Regions from separate parts of the Homo sapiens genome. Here region 2 is linked to region 1. The links are contacts of gene promoters, found by promoter capture Hi-C in blood cells and fetal thymus (Javierre and others, 2016). All regions are on one chromosome and are shown on one strand. The core of a region is centred on a gene start or on the middle of the fragment in contact, and the rest is flanking DNA. Distances in the headings are between cores, read along the strand shown. Region 1 holds the start of CLEC12B (C-type lectin domain family 12 member B). Region 2 has its middle 10 kb from the start of CD69.

Region 1 (3,076 bases), core at 205-2,704:
CCATGCTGTGGAAGGTTTGTCATCCTGCTCTTCACAATAAACCTTGCTACCACTCAGTCTTTGGGTCCGTGCCATCTTTAAGAGGTGTAACCCTCACCGCAAAGGTCCGCGGCTTCATTTTTGAAGTCAGCGAGACCAGGAACCCACCGGCAGGAACCAACTCCGGACACGGACCAGAACAGAGATAGAAAACCATTCTTAATTTCTTATTTTTGTAATCATCTATTTAAACTGGTCCTCATGTCAATGGTCTCTGCCTTTTCTGAATTCAACTAGAATAGTAAACATAAGCATAGATTTATTATTTGTTTCAATATTTTTGATAGTGGAGTTTTATTGATATATGACTTAGAGCCTCCAAACATTTTTTTGATTATTTCATCAATTTGAAAAAAAAAAAAACAAAAAACATGAACAAGTAACATATGTATATTTAGGTGTTTAGAGATCATGCACAGCGTTCCTAAAGAGAAAGTTTTTACATTGCCTTTCTGCATCTGCTTCACAGCTGTGGGGTGAGTGCACCTCACGCTGGACACCTTTGACTAAGATAATCTCCACACAGATATGAACCTTGGAAGTTTTAGATCACTCCCCACTCATCTGAAACCACAAAACTCATACCCAATCCTTCCCCTAAGTACAGTTATCTAATATTCTGCCTCTCCCCAAAGGAAAGCTTTAGAGGAGATTCCTTAATTTCGTCCCTCATATATAGCGCTCCCCCCCCATATTTTCCTGGGTTCTGTATTAACTACATATTGCTGCTGTAACAAATTACCACAGATGTATTAACTTCCGGTAGTTATCTTTTTAAAATCTTGTCCTGTGTATTCCTTGCTGTCTGCAGGATTATCCCATGGTTGTTGTTCTGTTAGGAACTTTCCCAACCATGCCAGAAGAGGGCACTCCCATTCATACTCACGTTAAGTAGCTAAGTAGCTATCAGTTTCTTCTCCATGCTCCATTACCAACACCATGTCTCTCTCTCTCTGTCTCTCTCTCTCTGTCTCTCTCTGTCTCTCTCTCACACACACACACACACACACACACACACACACACACGCTTGAATTTTCTATAATAGCAGCCAGGTGTGTGGCACAGCTCTTTCTGTCTTAATGTGTGTCTCTCTGCTTAATATCTAATGTGGCTGAGAATAAACTAGAACCAATGTCTCCAGGCAGATTAGCTAGCCTTAGATAGATGTAAAGAAGACAACCTGACTCTTTTCTGAAACATTCAGAGCATCCTCTACCCCGAGGATCATGGGAATTCCCTCATGTTCCTCCTGCTCTGCCTCAAGCACCCCTTCTTTGCTGCACAGCAAGAAACAGTTCTGACAGAGCAGACAGTTTGAGATCTGTAACATTCTAATGAGAATATCTCTAAGGAGAATATTTGGCTTTTCTCACTTTCTCTGTAGAGAAACAAATTGTCATTCTTCTCTTACAGAGGGGCAGTAGAGTGTGTCTGGGTCAGCTGAGTGACTACATCAAAGCTCCCAGCCTTGAAAAACACATGCTGTTCCCAGGCCTCAAGATATTGAAACATTAATTAGATAATTTAAAGTAGCGTTTTCTTCTACAATGTCTGAAGAAGTGACCTACGCGACACTCACATTTCAGGATTCTGCTGGAGCAAGGAATAACCGAGATGGAAATAACCTAAGAAAAAGAGGTAGGAGTTCAGAGAAGACCAGCTGTGTCCTTGGGGGAGTGGACAGGTGTTAAATGCTTTGAGGTGCCAGCTTTAATACTGGCGTTAAAGACATGTGCTGTGAAATCTCCAAAATGGGGACAAATAGTTGTGGAATGTATTAGAAAAGTGAGTGTTCCCAAGGTTGAAGTGAAAATATGTGGCTTTCAGAACCTCTTTAAAGTTGTGTGATATCACACAGTCAGAGAAATTCTGACTGCACATGCCAGAAATTGAGCTTGGGGAATTAGAGATTTCTTCTTATGAATATAATCCTTGATATTTATACCTTGTTAGAGATGCCAGGAGGATATTCTTTCAGAAACCAGATTGGAGGCTTCTAAAATAGAGAAGGTAGAGGACGTTTTTCTTTTAGATGATGTAAGTTACTTAAGAGAAAACTGGAAGATGAGTGAGTGGATTAGAAATAGATCAGAGCTAATTTTTCTTTTGTCAGTATTTTTTCAAATTTTAGGGTAGTTGAAATCCGAGCATAATTTGTAATGTTGAACCAGTAATAATAGTATCTGGGTAGTATTTTATGTACATTATATACAGATATAATTGTAATGAAAATCCACAATAATATTCGAATATTAGTATTTTCTCCATTACATAGATGAAAAAACTGAGGGTGAGAGAAATTAGATAATTTAAGCAAGCTCACACAACTGCTATGTGGGGAAGCCCAGTCTCAGTGCTGGTCTTCAGCTCATTCTCTTATGCCTAATTGGAAAAATAGCAGTCTCCATGGTCAAGACTCTGATTTAATATATAAGACCACATCTCTTATTTTCAGATATGTTAACTATCCAGGTTCTCCTGAATCATGTCAGTCATCTGAACTACTTTCTCCTGCCCTCTAGATTTATCTTTACATTTTGTGTGGTGCATGACATTTGAGGGAAGGATATTTACAAAAAGCCGATGGGAATAGACTTTGCATATGTCTAATAAATGTGGTTACACATTTTTGCCTTGTTTTGTTTTACTTTTTAATTCTAATTCTAACCTGTGAGGAAAAAGGAGGTGTGGATATGGTGCATATCACAGTGTACCTAGAGTCTGTCATGCTGTATCTAAAACATTGCGCTAGATGTTATTTGGACCTAAATCAAGGGATATGAAGCTAAGGAAAACATGACAACCATTGATATTTTAAACAACAACAATGACTAGGATGCTAACGGCTTTCTGGTCTATTCTGCTGTTTGTAGGTTAGACTGCACATTCTTTCCTTCTTTCATTCAGTATTCATTCATTATTTATTAGGTGATAAATAGCATGAATAATAGATAAGTTATTGTTAACAGGTAAAAGATACTTTAAAAAGTCGAATCCACTTTTACAAGGCAGATAGAACATGTGCCTTATAGAGAC
Region 2 (3,076 bases), core at 299-2,798, 260 kb before region 1:
GACGTCAGGCGTTCGAGACCAGCTTGGCCAACATGGTGAAACCCCGTCTCTACTAAAAATACAAAAATTAGCCGGGCGTGGTGGTGCGCGCCTGTAATCCCAGCTACCCGGGACGCTGAGGCAGGAGAATTGCTTGAACCCGGGAGGCAGAAGCTGCAGTGAGCGGAGATCGAGCCACAGCATTCCAGCCTGGGCGACAGAGTGAGACTCGGAAAAAAAAAAAAAAGGAAAAAAAGAAGAAAGAAAGAAAGAAAAAAGAGAAAAGAAAAAGAAAGGAAAGAAAGAAAGAGATCCAAAATTATAGAAAAACATAAAGAAAATAAATACTTCCTATATTCCTCCTCCTCAGGGAAAACCACTGTGTTTACTTTAGTAGTTTTACTTTCTGTCAGCATATAGAAATATAAAACATGTTTTGTATATTTAATATTGAACAGGAAATAATCCTATTGTATATATTATTTTAAACTAGCAGCAATAATAGTTTGAGTATTCTTTCATATACATAAATGTTCTTCATTATTTTTTAATGTTGGGATAGCATTTCATCATGTAGGAGCATTATATTTATTTAACTAAATCTTTGGTTTTGGACAATTAGGTAGCTTCTGATTTTTCACTACTAGAAATATCCCTTTGATAAACATTTTTGTGGTTATGTCTTGCACATCCAAGATTATTTCTTTAAAATCTCCCTCCCTCCCCAGTAAGTATTGTCAAGCTGCTTTCCAAAGGGTAAAGGAAACCAGTTTACACCATCACCAGCAGTCGTTCTGGTCATATATTTCCCAATATTTTTCCCTGAAAAATCATTTACATTTTAATTTCAGTTATAATACATTTTCATGTGCAAAATCTAATCAAATTATGAAAATTGACAGCAAGCTTAAAAATATCATTTCTATATTAGTATCATACAATTTTTAAGTAGTTGAATACTGACTATAGCACCTAACAGTTCAATGGCATTTTAGCCTTTTTAAAAAGTTTTATCCAATCCCTACAATTATGTGAAATGTGCAGCTGATGTATTCCCCTTTCCAGAGGAAGAAATTGAAATTATGTTGAAAAAGCAACGCAAAACACGGATAACTGATAGTTTTATTTTACACATATTTATGTAACTATCCAAGATGAATGTAGCCTACAGAGTTAAAATTTTGATAATTAGCTAAAGGTTTGAATACAGGAGTATATCTTTAATATGCTTCCATAGCACCCTACGTTTTTCCTATTATAACATTCATCACACCATGTCAATTCATCTTGTTGTTTGTTTTACAAATAGACCACGAATTCCACAAGGCCAGTTGCCATGCGGAATTTGCTGAGTATTTTAACTCTGGTGTCCACCATAGTAGTAGGTGCTTACTTATAACTTGTGAAATGAAATTTTTAAAAGGCTTTCCAAAAACAAATACAAATAAGATATATTACGTAGAAATAGACATGTCGTGTAGAAACGCGGCTTTATGCCAATACTGGAAGTTTGAAGACATAGTGTTTCTAGTTCTAATAATCATCATGAGTATTTAATACATGCCTATGGTGTACTAGGGAGCCAGATAATGTTTTAAGTTTGTTTTCATGTACTAACTAATTTAACATCTAACTAATTTTAGCTGAATTTTGAACGAGTTCTGATAAAATAGCTAGTCAGCCCGCGCGTGGCAGAGATGAAACTCGGGCGGTCTGGCCCCCGTGCTTTGGGTCTCAGCAGCTCCACGCTCCACATAGATGTTTTGTAGGATCCTTAAAACAGAAGTGCAGTAATCTCGTATAACCACTAGATGGCACTGCAACTTTTGTAACAGGGGACTTAGCCGGGGGCAGGAGGGGTTCTTGAGACAAACCCATTTTTTATATTTGTCATTGGTCACTTGCAAGTAGAGTCATACTTTAAATAATAACATTATTCCCTTTAAGAATTGTATATTTTTTATCTATTTAAAGAAAACAGTTGTCCTTATGAATAAAATGACTTCAAATTATGTGTAAAAAATAACTCTGTTATCCGTGTTTTGCGTCGCTTTTTCAACATAATTTCAACTTCTTCCTCTGGAAAGGGAAATACATCAGCTGCTCATTTCACATAATTATAGGGATTCAATAAAATTATTTGTAAAAATGATAAAATTCATTGAATTGTTAGGTGATACAGTCAGTATTCAATGACTTAAAAATTGTGTCATACTAATATAGAAATATTTTTAAGCTTGCTCTCAATTTTCATAATTTGATTAGATTTATGCACATAAAAATATGTTATAACTAAAATATTAATCGCAAGACATTGTTTTCTAAGATGACTCGGGAGTAGATTGTTGGTAATGATAGAATATTACCGCTAGGAGGCTGCTTGTTTCTTTTTTCCCACAGCTGTGGGAACTCAGGAGCACAGAGGTCATTATTTTTCACTAAGCAGTGTCTGAAATCCACATTTCTGTTTGCCGTTTGCCAATAGTTTAGAGATACCATACACATCATACATTTCCAACAAGCAGAGAAGAATATTGCAAATTACATTTATAAAACAATTTTGAAGGTAATCAAATGTATTAGGCTATTCTTGCATTGCTATAAAAATATCTGAGACTGGGTAATTTATAAAGAAAAAAGGCTTAATTGGCTTACGGTTCTGCAGTTTTTACAAGCATAATGCTGACACTGCTCAGCTTCCGCGGAAGCTTAGGGAGCTTTTATGTATGTTGGAAGGTGAAGTGGAGTGGGAGCAGGCATGTCACATGGAGAAAGCAGGAAAGAGAGAGAGAAAGAGAGAGAGAGAGAGAGAAAGTGCTGCACACTTTGAAAAGACCAGATCTCCTGAGAACTCACTCAGGTGCAAGGAGACCATCAAGAGGATGATGCTAAACCATTCATGAGAGATTCGCTCCCATGATGTAATCACCTCCCACCAGGCCCCACCTCCAACAAAGGGGATTACAATGCGACATGAGATTTGGGCAGGGACACACATCCAAACTACATCATTGAGTTTTTTGCTGATTGAAATATCCCATGAAGATTATGCCTCTTTTCTATATATTGAATTATTTTACATAAATAACTAAAGTGT

What was found. Contacts are between HindIII fragments. The CHiCAGO score rates a contact against its expected background, and 5 or more counts as called.
Region 2: a contact is called between a fragment that was not itself captured here and the fragment with the promoter of CLEC12B in region 1, in 4 of 17 cell types (M0 macrophages, megakaryocytes, M1 macrophages and 1 more). The highest score is 8.9, in M0 macrophages.

Annotation. Positions count from the first base shown.
Region 1 is chr12:10,009,173-10,012,248 of GRCh38, forward strand. It overlaps CLEC12B (C-type lectin domain family 12 member B), which reads left to right and starts at 1,455. Exons shown (of 6, transcript NM_001129998.3): 1 at 1,455-1,678. The coding sequence starts at 1,588. The HindIII fragment of the contact is 2,412 bases long and covers 678-3,076 here.
Region 2 is chr12:9,749,133-9,752,208 of GRCh38, forward strand. No RefSeq gene overlaps it. Among named protein-coding and RNA genes, the nearest start is that of CD69, 10 kb to the right of the region's middle. RefSeq lists an enhancer at 1,581-1,875 and a silencer at 2,336-2,415. The HindIII fragment of the contact is 1,330 bases long and covers 884-2,213 here.